2 separate regions of the Homo sapiens genome follow, and region 2 is linked to region 1. The links are contacts of gene promoters, found by promoter capture Hi-C in blood cells and fetal thymus (Javierre and others, 2016). All regions are on one chromosome and are shown on one strand. The core of a region is centred on a gene start or on the middle of the fragment in contact, and the rest is flanking DNA. Distances in the headings are between cores, read along the strand shown.

Region 1 (6,394 bases), core at 1,597-4,096:
AGAATTGCTTAAACCCAGGAGGAAGAGGCTGCAGTCAGCCGAGATCGCACCATTGCACTCCAGCCTGAGCAACAAGGCGAGACTCCGTTTCAAACAAACACGTGCATTACATCGATGTAGCTCATCTAATTTTAAATTTTAAGCTGTATCATGCTGCTTTCACAAATACACAGGTACTATTTACTTCCCATGTTACCAAAAAGCAAACAAAAGTATAGCTAATAGTAAAATTAAAACTAATTAATAGGCTGGGCACTGTGGCTCACACCTGTAATCCCAGCACTTTGGGAGGCCAAGGTGGGCGGATTGCCTGGGGTCAGGAGTTTGAGACCAGTCTGGACAACATGATGAAAACCTGTCCCTACTAAAAAAAAAAAAAAAAATACAAAAAAAATATATATATACAAAAAAATTTGCTGGGCGTGGTGGCATGCACCTGTAATCCCAGCTACTCAAGAGGCTGAGGCAGAGGAATTGCTTGAACCAGGGAGGTGGAAGTTGCAGTGAGCCGAGATCATGCCCTTGCACTCCAGCCTGGGCAAAGAAGCGAGAGACTCAGTCTCAAAAAAAAAAAAAAACAAACAAACCCAGGCGCAGTGGCTCACACCTGTAATCCCAGCAATTTGGGAGGCCGGATCACGAGGTCAAGAGATCAAGACCATCCTGGCCAATATGGTGAAACCCCGTCTCTACTAAATATACAAAAAATTAGCTGGGCATGGTGGCACGCGCCTGTTGTCCCAGCTACTCAGGAGACTGAGGCAGGAGAATCGCTTGAGCCCGGGAGGCGGAGGTTGCAGTGAGCCGAGATCGCGCCACTGCACTCCAGCCTGGGTGACAGAGCAAGACTGCGTCTCAAAAAAAAAAAAAAAAAAAACTAGTAGATGGGAACGGTGGCTCACCCCTGTAATCCAGCACTTTGGGAGGCTGAGGCGGGTGGATCACCTGAGGTGAGGAGGGTGCAGTGAGCCAAGATCATGCCACTGCACTCCAGCCTGGGCAATGCAGCGAGACTCCATCTCAAAAAAAAAAAAAAAATACAGACTCCCTATGTACAATATGCTAATAATTTATCAGTAATCTTTATAATTTATATTCAACTTCCAAAACAACTAAAAGTGATTAACAAAAAGTATTTGCCATTAATATCATCTAACCTTTGGTCTTTTCAAAATATTAACATACACTCATGTATAGTGTTATGAAAAAATTGTGTTTAATAATGCAACCCACAAAAGGAAAATGAAAAGTATTAAATTAAAATGCATTATTTTATTACTAAATTTTCAAAAATCTATAAGAGGTCCTAAGCACAACTGTTATAAAGATATGGCCCCGTTAACGAGCACAGATTAGATTTCAGCAAGCACAGTAAAGTCATAACACTAAAATTCCACTTTTAAAACAATCCTTGCCTTACTAGCTAGCTGACCCAAGTATGTATACTACCCCAACACTAGAACTGCTAAAGATCTTAAAACCTATGACACCTATATGTAATAAAGATGTAAAAGACACCACTTAATTAAAATGTATGCAGAATGTATCCTGAGGTATTACTCTAAAGCAACAATTACAACATATATTCAAAGCCTTCCATTTCAGTACATATAGATTTGAAAATTCATTTTATTATGCAATGATGGCATAAACTATTAAATCACACTGCTCTATACTCTTGTTTCAACGAAGACTAGGAAAAGGCAGATCAGGCCGAGCGCGGTGGCTCACACCTGTAATTCCAGCACTCTGGGAGGCCGAAGTGGGCGGATCACCTGAGGTCAGGAGTTCGAGACCAGTCTGGCCAACATGACAAAACCCCGTCTCTACTAAAAATACAAAAATTAGCCGGGCCTGGTGGCACGCGCCTGTAATCCCAGCTACTTGGGAGGCTGAGGCAGGAGAATCACTTGAACCTGGGAGGTGGAGGTTGCAGTGAGCCGAGATCACACCACTGCATTCCAACTGGGCAACAGGGTGAGCCTCTGACTCAAAAAAAAAAAAAAAAAGAAAAGAAAAGAAAAAGGCAGATCACACGGGTTAACATTTTTAAATGTAAACTAAAGCTTAACGTTTTTAACATTTCTGAAATGGTCTAATGTCTAAAACCTCAACGTTAATACTTGTGTGCTCACAGGAAACCAAACATTGTATTCAGTAGGAAAGAGGAGTTGAACAGCTTATCTAAGAAACCACTTGTTCTTCAATTAGCTTTCATCTTGCTCTGGTCTTTTATTTTGTTTGCACTGCAGTTTTCCTCATAAATAATAAAAAGATCACACGTATTCAGTCAGGTAAGAAAGATCCTCTCGCTCTTATTTTAAGGAGCAATCGTCCTCTACTCCCCAACCCATGTCAAGGAGAGTCCAAAGGAATGGGACCCCTACTCTGATCCAGGACACCTCTTGGCCTGACCCATCTTCGGTGCCGGTTGGCCTGACCCATCTTCGGTGCCGGAGGTTGACACCCGCCCACCTTGGGCCTCCTCGCCTCCCTCCCGTAGAGCCTTCAGCCTACAACTCGGACCCGCGCCCGCCGGAACCTACGGGGGCGCCCGCGCGGGAGCCACCCCGCCCCCAGCCCGCCGGCGCGCGGCCGACGCGCGAGCACGACCCGCCAACCCGACGGCCGCCGGGGCCTCGGCGCCGGTCCCACCCGGTCCCAGGCTACGCTCTGCGGAGAGCGCGGCATTCGAGACAGCGCACTCGGGCTTCTCCCGCACGGTCAGCGCTCGGGCGCCAGCAGCAGACGGAGGGGCAGAGCCGGGTCGGAGCGGAAAATCACGCAGCCCGGCCCGGGAACCGACCTGTGGAGACCGCCATCTTCTCCTGCAGCCCGACGCAGCCGCCCGCACGCACGCACGAACCGTCGCGCGTCACTTCCGGGAGCGCGCCGCCCTGCACGCGTCACAGCGGACTCCGCCCCCGGCGGGCGCGGGGCGACCCGAGGGACAGCGCGCACGTGGGCCGAGGGGTCGCGGGGCCTCGCTGCTGTTTCCGCAATTCCCTTGTGAATCCCGCTCTCAAAATGAAACGCTAAAGAATAAGTTCATGAGGGCCGGGCGCGGTGGCTCACGTCTGTAATCCCAGCACTTTGGGAGGCCGAGGCGATCGGATCACCCGAGGTCAGGAGTTCGAAACCAGCCTGGCCAACATGGCGAAACCCCGTCTCTACTAAAAATACAAAAATTAGCCGGACGTGGTGGCGCGCGCCTGTAATCCCAGCTATTTGGGAGGCTGAGGCACGAGAATCGTTTGAACCGGGGAGGCGGAGGGGCAATGAGCCGCGATTGCGCCACTGCACTCCAGCCTGGACAACAGAGCGAGACTCCGCCTCAAAAAAATAAATAAAAATAAGTGGGCATTGACAGATTTGCGTTGATAAACGATTCAAAAGAGTTGGACAATAAATTTGAACAGCTAGGGATGCTGAGGTGGGAGGGTCACGTGAGCCCAAGAGGTGAGGCTGCAGTGAGCAGAAATCGCTGCACTCCAGCCTGGGCAACAGAGGGAGACTCCATTTCAAAAAAAAAAAAGAAAGAAAGAAAAAGGAAAGTAATACAGGCTGGGCGCCGAAGCTCACTTCTGTAATCCTAACACTTTGGGAGGCTGAGGCAGGAGGATGGCTTGAACCCAAGACTTTGAGACCAGCTTGGACAACATAGTGATACCTAGTCTCTACATAAAACTGAAAAAAAAAAAAAAAAAAGATTTTTCACATCCCTTGTAGGTTGTATTCCTAGGTATTTTTATTCTCTTTGTAGCAATTGTGAATGGGAGTTCACTCATGATTTGGCTCTCTGTTTGTCTGTTATTAGTGTATAGGAATGCTTGTGATTTTTGCACATTGATTTTGTATCCTGAGACTTTGCTGAAGTTGCTTGTCAGCTTAAGAAGATTTGGGGCTGAGACTATGGGGTTTTCTAAATATACAATCATGTCATCTGCAAACAGAGACAATTTGACTTCCTCTTTTCCTAATTGAATACCCTTTATTTCTTTCTCTTGCCTGATTGCCCTGGCCAGAACTTCCAATACTATGTTGAATAGGAGTGGTGAGAGAGGGCATCTTTGTCTTGTGCCGGCTTTCAAAGGGAATGCTTTTGGCCGGGCATGGATCCCAGCACTTTGGGAGGCGGAGGCGGGCGGATCACGAGGTCAGAAGATCAAGACCATCTTGGCTAACACAGTGAAACCCTGTCTCTACTAAAAAAAAAAAAATACAAAAAATTAGCCAGGCATGGTGGCAGGCCCCTGTAGTCCCAGCTACTCGGGAGGCTGAGGCAGGAGAATGGCGTGAACCCGGGAGTTGGAGCTTGCAGTGAACCGAGATGGCGACACTGCACTCCACCCCAGCCTAGGGGACAGAGCGAGACTCCATCTCAAAATAAAAAAAAATAAAAAATAAAAAGAATCCTTCATTCCAGTTTTCGCCCATTCAGTATGATATTGGCTGTGGGTTTGTCGTAAATAGCTCTTATTATTTTGAGATACATTCCATCAATGCCTAGTTTATTGAGAGTTTTTAGCATGAAGGGCTGTTGAATTTTGTCGAAGCCTTTTCTGCATCTATTGAGATAATCATGTGGTTTTTGTCATTGGTTCTGTTTATGTGATGGATTACATTTATTGATTTGCATATGTTGAAGCAGCCTTGCATCCCAGGGATGAAGCCGACTTGATCTTGGTGGATAAGCTTTTTTGATGTGCTGCTGGATTCGGTTTGCCAGTATTTTATTGAGTATTTTCGCATCAATGTTCATCAGGGGTATTGAGCCCACGTAGCCAAGGCAATCGTAAGCAAAAGGAACAAAGCTGGAGGCATCACACTACCTACCTGACTTCAAACTATACTGCGAGGCTACAGTAAAAAAAATTGCCTAGTACTGGTACCAAAACAGATATATAGATCAATGGAACAGAACAGAGGCCTCAGAAATAACTCCACATATCTACAACCATCTGATCTTTGACAAACCTGACAAAAACAAGCAATGGGGAAAGGATTCCTTATTTAATAAATGGTGTTGGGAAAACTGGGTAGCCATATGCAGAAAGCTGGAACTGGATCCCTTCCTTACACCTTATACAAAAATTAACTCAAGATGGATTAAAGACTTAAACGTAAGACCTAAAACCATAAAAACCCTAGAAGAAAACCTAGGCAATACCATTCAGGATGTAGGCATGGGCAAAGACTTCATGACTAAAACACCAAAAGCAATGGCAACAAAAGCCAAAATTGACAAATGGAATCTGATTAAACTAAAGAGCTTCTGCACAGCAAAAGAAACTACCATGAGAGTGAACAGGCAACCTATAGAATGGGAGAAAATTTTTGCAATCTATCCATCTGACAAAGGGCCAATATATAGAATCTACAAAGAACTTAAACAGATTTACAAGAAAAAAATAAGTCCATCAAAAAGTGGGCAAAGGATATGAACAGACACTTCTCAAATGAAGACATTTATGCAGCCAACAAACATGAAAAAAAGCTCATCATCACTGGTCATTAGGGAAATGCAAATCAAAACCACAATGAGCTACCATCTCACACCAGGTAGAATGGTGATCATTAAAAAGTCAGGAAACAACAGATGCTGGAGAGGATGTGGAGAAATAGGAATGCTTTTACACTGTTGGTGGGAGTATAAATTAGTTCAACCATTGTGGAAGACAGTGTGGCGATTCCTCAAGGATCTAGAACTAGAAATACCATTTGACCCAGCAATCCCATTACTGGGTATATACCCAAAGCATTATAAATCATTCTACTATAAAGACACATGCACATGTATATTTATTGTGGCACTGTTCACAATAGCAAAGACTTGGAACCAACCCAAATGGCCATCAGTGATAGACTGCATAAAGAAAATGTGGCAAATATACACCATGGAATACTATGCAGCCATAAATTAGGATGAGTTCATGTCCTTTGCAGGAACATGGATGATGCTGGAAACCGTCATTCTCAGCAAACTATCACAAGAACAGAAAACCAAACACCTCATGTTCTCACTTATAAGTGGGAGTTGAACAGTGAGAACACATGGACACAGGGAGGGGAACATCACACACTGGGGCCTGTCAGGGGTTGGGGGCTAGGGGAGGGATAGCATTAGGAGAAATACGTAATGTAGATGACAGGTTGATGGGTGTAGCAAACCACCATGGCACGTGTATACCTCTGTAACAAACCTGCATGTTCTGCCCCTGTTCCCCAGAATTTAAATTAAAAAAAAAAAAAAAGGAGAAAAAGTAGTTAAGAGAAAAAAAAAAAAGCTGGCATTCTGGTTCGTGCCTGTAGCCTCAACTACTCAGGAGGATGAGATGGGAGGATCACTTGAGCCAGGAGGTTAAGGCTTCAGTGAGTTATGATGGCACCACTG
Region 2 (6,394 bases), core at 2,044-4,543, 500 kb before region 1:
AAATGGATTCAAAGAAAACTAATTTTCATTTTAAATCCCTATGGTGAAATAGGTCATTTCATATGTTTTCCAAGTGTTGTTTATATTGTGTATGTCTGTATAACATCTAACACACCATGAAAACTAATTAAATGGTAAAATAATTAGAATATTTATACAATCATATAAGTACACAAACTGAAATTTTTCACTCCTTTTTATTTTTTGTCAGTTTATATTAGGTAATTGCATTAGGCAATTTAGAATTTATCTCATCAAATGAAACTTTGAAGAGTATATTCAAGTGAAAATAACAAAGCTCTTTGTGTTTTTAGCAGATTTAACCCCAATAATATTTGAAGTCCTACTGAAGTGCCATGTCAAAGGCATTACAGTAGCTCTGAAGAAAAAGTAAAATACCTTCTGAAACAACTCTGGGAAGAAGCTCACCACCCGGCCACGATACCCACTTCTTGCTGCCAAGAAGCTTCTAGCTACACGGTTTTTCCTTCCACCCCACAGTGCAGTGGAAACAAGACCCAAGCTCTTCTCAAGGAGTAAGCACAGGACAAGTTTCCTGCTAAGTGGTCCTAAGTCAACAAGGCCATCTGATAGGAATTTGAGGAGTAGTGAATTTTATAGGAATAGAGGGGAAAGGACTCTTTTTCCATGTAGGCTTCTCTTGGAGTGGGGAGATTAGGAAATCTCCATGATATAAAATGATGAAAGTTCGAATCATTGTCACCCTACCGGAAAGACTCCAATTTGACCTTAGTGCTTAATCCCTTTAGTTTGAAGTGTAGCTTAAAAGTATTTAAATAAAATACAGCTGCCCCCAAACTGTGAGACTGTGAGTGGGAAGGGACATGACTGTGTACTTGGAGACCTCAGGTATGTTGGGGGTCGGGGGCAGCCACCGGGACGGTTAGAAAACCCAAATGAGTCTTCTAACACTCATTTACCCAATTTAAAGAGAACATTTTGACAATGTTGTGCAAATTTTTTTGCTGCCCACTTTTAGAAACTATACTAGGACAATGTGGGTGGTATATCGGATTATGTACACGAAACATGTGAAGTAAATAGGGTTGTGCCATTTCTAAACATCCAAATACTGAGGTACAAAGAGATGGAATGAGTGTCTCATGATCCCACAGCTTATCGGTGTTAAAGTTTAAATGAAGGGGGGAAAAGGCAATAGATCTGAGAAACTTCTAGTTCATAGGTCTCACATGTCATTGGTAAAGCGTGTTTAAGCGGGGAAAAATGATGATGCTTTCAGTTGGATTCTTAATGAAAACTTGTTACATTCCTTTACTTTTCTCCAGAGACAGCCCAGGCGACAGTTTGCACTTCGCATTCCCTAGGGTATCCAGTCACTGCGTGTTCTCTGCCCTCTTTCAGGACACAGATGAAATCCATCTTCTGTCTTTCATGGGAGTGGTGGGAGGACACGGAGGTGGGGGCGGAATCAAGTTTAAATACTAAGAAAATGAAAACAGATGCGTGGAGAGAAGGCGATGCTGGTGGGAATGAAGGCCCGGAAGCCGTTCTCAGTCCTGGCTGCGTCTGCATGGCGCTCCTCCCCAAAACCCTCCTCCCGAGCCTCCGGGAGGGGCTGGCCTCCGCGGGCATCGCCAGCAGGGAACCGCTCCTCCCTCCGCGGAAAACCCTGCTCGGCAGTCCCAGCATGCCTTTTTCAATACACTGTTTGCAATTAATTGGGAGAACCAGAGCTGGGAGAATTAGGAGACAGACCAGTCCCTGAAACACGTGAGGAGAAAAGTGCAGGGCCTTGTCTGTTTGCAGGCACGGAGAACAGGTGCCAAGGGCAGCGGCTCCTTGGCTGGCCCGCGGGTCCAGGGGACGTGAGCAGACCAGGCCGGTGGCGGGTGGCCGGCCTGGGCGGGAGGCCGCTGTTTGTGGAGGGCCGGCCTGCCAGCCCCCGGACGCCAGGGTGGACTCGGCGGCCTGGCGGGGCTCAAGCCCAGCTATCCATCACTAGCCGCCTAGCGGCTAGCACCCCGGAGCAGGAGCCGCCCCGCCCACCTGGCTCCGCCCAGCCGCTGGCCAGAGCTCATGCGCGCGGGCTGACGTCAGCACCCCGCCCCCGCCCGAGTCAGACACCCGGGTCCGCTCCGCCTGAGACTGAAGGGCGCCGGGTGTCTGCGGGGGCGGGGGAAGCTTGGGGCTTCACCAGGGGGCCAGCTGCCTGGGGGTCTCTCTCCCTCCACCAGTTCTCCTGGTCCTGGAGGGAGCCATCCTCCGCATAAAATACCTTCCTGAACCGCGATGTTGCTGCCTGCAGGATACAACCCAGGCTCTTTATAGCACTCCTCACACAACTGCCTCTGGACCTACTTTTACAAGAGGGGGTGGGGTACTGAGAGGAGGTAACTGTTCCTTGTGGCACAGGAGGAATTTGGCCAGGAGGCTGCTCGTCATGTTACTGGAACTGTGTGGGCTGGGCCAGATGAGCTTGCTGAGAGTCCCAACAAGGACCTATCCAGAACCAGAAGGAGCCCCAGAGAGTGGCGGCCCTGGCCTCGCTCACACAGTGTGCACACACAGGCAGTTTTATACCTCCAGCATGTTCACGCAAATAAATAGCAACCCCAAAGAAAACCTTCACAGTGTCTGCCAATGAGCATCTCATACAATTTATAGTATGCTGTCTACAATTAATTGAACCAACTCCAGGACCTCATGGTGGGGACACGGGGGTCACAGGCAGAGGAAAGGCCAGGTTATGCAACAGTGTTGTATAGTGCGCATCTGGCTCATCTTATGTGCTGAATATACTGCAGGAGATGGCAGGCTTGGAAATGTCAGCCATGGCCAAGATCCTGGCCAAAGGAGGCAAAGATGCTGGAGGCCACTGGATTCACACAGGACTACCCTCACAGGGCTCTGGGGCTATGATGGGTTCTTCACTGACAAGAGAAGAAAGACCTGGGGGTCACAGAAGCCTGAGCGACCTGAGTGAAGGCAGGCATCACAAGGCCTAGTCTTAGAGCTGAGACATGGAGGCCTGCAAGTATAGAGCAGAACAGTGGGTTGTTTTATTTTTTAATCAGTGTACTGAGACTTTACAGATTCTTATAACTTCCTGAGAAGAACATACCAGTATTTTAGGCGTCTGTCTTAAATGTACCCTGTATTGTTTCTTAGAACCCCAAAGAGGCCTACAATGATGCTGGCGTTTTGCCTTGTACTTGCCATCTGATGGCAGGTGAGTTTTCACAAGCATATTACAGCCACTTGAAGGTGACATGAAGGTGATACCTGCCTCCTCTCCTACAGACCAAATACTGCTAAACACTGGCTCCACTCTCCAGACATAAAAGTATGTGCATGGATTCAAGGAGCTTTATTTTTAGAAAACCCTTGAACACATGTATACTGAACAACAACTGAAAGGATAAAAATCTCATTTTGATTTTATCTATAGCACAATTTCTGGTACCGTGGAGAAACAAGAAATTAGCTCTTGTGGGAATGGATTTATATGGAAAACCGAGCAAATCTGTTTTGTTGGGGGAAACTAAATTTATACAGCTGATTTTCTTCAAACTGTTCAAAATACTCAAAGGCCCTATCTCTATTAACCAATGATCTAGAAAAGTCTTCATTTTGAGAATAAAGGAATTTCTAACTACATGGATTTCAAAACAGCCCATCTGACTTTTCTATGCTTTGATTTAGGTTCTTATCCATATACAAGTAGTAGGAAAAAAATGAAATCCCAATGAGCCAACAAGAATGTATTGCAGAGTATTACAGTTGGGCCTCTAAGGAGCAATAACAAAATATACTAAGTATCACCAAATGATATTTACTAATAACCTTCCCAGTTGTAATTACAGTCTGTATCATGAAAGTGGGAAGGTAAAGCAAGTAGAAATGTTTTCTTTCTGCACCCCTGTTCCTTTCCCAACTTTGGTTTGATTCTACCAAGATTCAAGGTTGAAATTTGTCCAGATCAAAGCTAGAGATCATGATGATGGTTCTTTGGGGATGAGGTCAGATTTGATTCATAGTAACATTGCAATAACAACTACTGCCTGCAGTGACATTGGTCATTTCCAACACACCTCCCTATATTATTTTATTATAATGACTCTTTTAGTAAGTGTTGTTATCCCCCACTTAACAGGTGAAGAAACAGAGGTCAGGTAAATTAAATACTTTGAGTCACATGGCTAATGAATAGCTGAACCAAATCCATCTATGGGCTGTCTTGGTCAGTTTCTGCTGCTATAACAAATTGCTATGGACTGGGTGGTTTAAACAACAAACACTTATTTCTCACAGTTCTGGGGGCTGGGAAGATCAAGATGGCAACAGATTTGATGTCCGGCAAAGGGTCTCTTCCTAGTTTGCAGGCAGTCATCTTTTTGTTGCATCCTCACATGGTGGCAAGTACAGACAGGAAGCAAGCTTTCCAATGTCTGTCTTCTGAGGGCTCTAATAGCACCTGAGGGCTCCAGCCTCAGGACATTATCTAAGTCTACTTACCTCTCTAAAGGCCTCACCTTCAAACACCATCCCAGTGAGAGTTAGGGCTTCAGCATAGGAATCTGAAGGGGACATCATTCAGTTCATAGCGCTCACCTCCAAATGAGCACTATGCACATCCTTGGTTTTACTGCATCACCTGGCTGTAGGCCCTGACTGACTGGATGAGAATACAAAGCTAGTATCTCAAGAGAAACTGCACAACACACAGGATTCCTTCATGTACTAAGAACAACATATCATGACCTGATGAAAAAAAAGAAGAAAAAAAATATATATATATACATCTGCTAGACAACTAGAAATTTTTGGGAACAAAAATATACATCAGATACACCCCAAATATATTTTGGTTTGAAACTTGAGTAGAGAAGGAGGATGGGGAGAACTAAATGACCAACTAATTCCTGAGCTATCCTTATGCTACCACCTCATTAATTGGCCCCACTTAAAGCATTAGCTTTGTGAGCATTAAGAACCAACCTCAGAGTATGTGGCCCTAGATTCAGGTTCTGGCCCCTAGATGTACCAGCTTTGTAACCTTGGCAGTTTGCTCTAAGATCTTTGCTATGGTTTGAATGTGCCTCCCAAAAAGCATGTGTTGACAACTTAATCTCCAGTGCAACAGTGTTGGGAGGTGAGGCCTAATAGGAGGTATTTAGGTCTTGAGGCATCCACCCTCATGAATGGGTTAATGCCAATTTATTAAAGACCCTGAGGTTGTGAGTTCAATCTCTTGCTCTCCCTCATTCTCTCTTTGCCATCCCACCATGGCTTGATGCAGCAAGAAGGCCCTCACCAGAGGCTGGCACCTTGATATTGGACTTCACAGCCTCTAGAACTGAGGAAATAAAGTTATGTTCTTTATAAATTACCAAGCCTGTAGTATCCTGTTACAGCAGGACAAAATAGACTAAGATAGTCTTTCAGATCTCATTTCTTCATACATAGAGATTTTTAAGAAGTGCTTATTCCAAGGGTTTTCCTATGAGATTTTAATGAGATAATGCATGTAATGGTACTTTGTGGAGGGCCAGGAAATCAGTAAATCAGCTTTTTTCACAAGCCCACCTCTATTTAAAAACAGAACACTATTTAACTAAAATGAAATGAAGTAAGTACCTTTGCCCAAAAGTCCTTGTTAGTTTATTTGAAAAGGAGCTCTATTTCAGATTATTTTTCAGTTAGCTTTTTGAGAACTGATCAGCTTACACTAAAAGTTCAGCCATTACAGGAAACCTGGGAAATGAAGGAATTCGCATGCTAAAAATAAAAAGAGTTTCAGCCAGTGTTAACCTGAATAGGTATTATGTTATTTCACTTGGGTCTTTTCCTCCAACATGAGTTCAAACAAAAATAACCAAATATGTTTAAAAGCTCTTGCTGCCCAGTGACCCTGCTCTGCGAAGGCCCCATGGTTCTGGTGCTGCAGTATGGGAGGCAGAGGCATTTGCCCTGCAGGACCCTTCCTATACCTCTCCTGACTAATCAGTTATTACCTAGGGTCAGCATCGGGTAAGAGTGGGGAGGAAACAGACAGGGGACGTCTGAAGGAATTCTTCAGTAGCTGAGTTGGGTGGGTTTTCCCCCTGTTTAACAAAGGTGAAGAATGGCAGTACCCTGAGTTATGTAGGGCTTCAAGACTCCACTTCATATATGGAGATTTTCCTCTCCTCCCAGGAAAGATCCCTCCCCTTAAGAAAAAGACTGTGCTCCCCAGGAGAGCAGAAGCCCAGGCCTGTCCTCAATGAAGCAGCCTGGGATAGTGGCCTCCGGCCCACAAACCCCATCAGGGACTTGAGCAATAGTTGTGTGAGCAAAATAAACTGTGAAATTAAAGTTACCTGTTTCTGGCAGAAACCTGACTTATGGGGGATCTTTATAGATCTGGGAATAG

Evidence for each region. Contacts are between HindIII fragments. The CHiCAGO score rates a contact against its expected background, and 5 or more counts as called.
Region 2: a contact is called between a fragment that was not itself captured here and the fragment with the promoter of UBE2V2 in region 1, in 2 of 17 cell types (total CD8 T cells and non-activated CD4 T cells). The highest score is 7.0, in total CD8 T cells.

The regions. Positions count from the first base shown.
Region 1 is chr8:48,004,883-48,011,276 of GRCh38, reverse strand. It overlaps UBE2V2 (ubiquitin conjugating enzyme E2 V2), which reads right to left and starts at 2,846. Exons shown (of 4, transcript NM_003350.3): 1 at 2,807-2,846. The coding sequence starts at 2,822. RefSeq lists silencers at 2,451-2,650, 2,881-3,140. The HindIII fragment of the contact is 2,629 bases long and covers 2,069-4,697 here.
Region 2 is chr8:48,510,277-48,516,670 of GRCh38, reverse strand. LINC02947 (long intergenic non-protein coding RNA 2947) reads left to right here. Exons shown (of 2, transcript NR_183464.1): 2 at 315-819. Among named protein-coding and RNA genes, the nearest start is that of LINC02947, 4.6 kb to the left of the region's middle. RefSeq lists an enhancer at 1,477-1,556 and silencers at 1,747-1,856, 1,927-2,156. The HindIII fragment of the contact is 2,256 bases long and covers 2,166-4,421 here.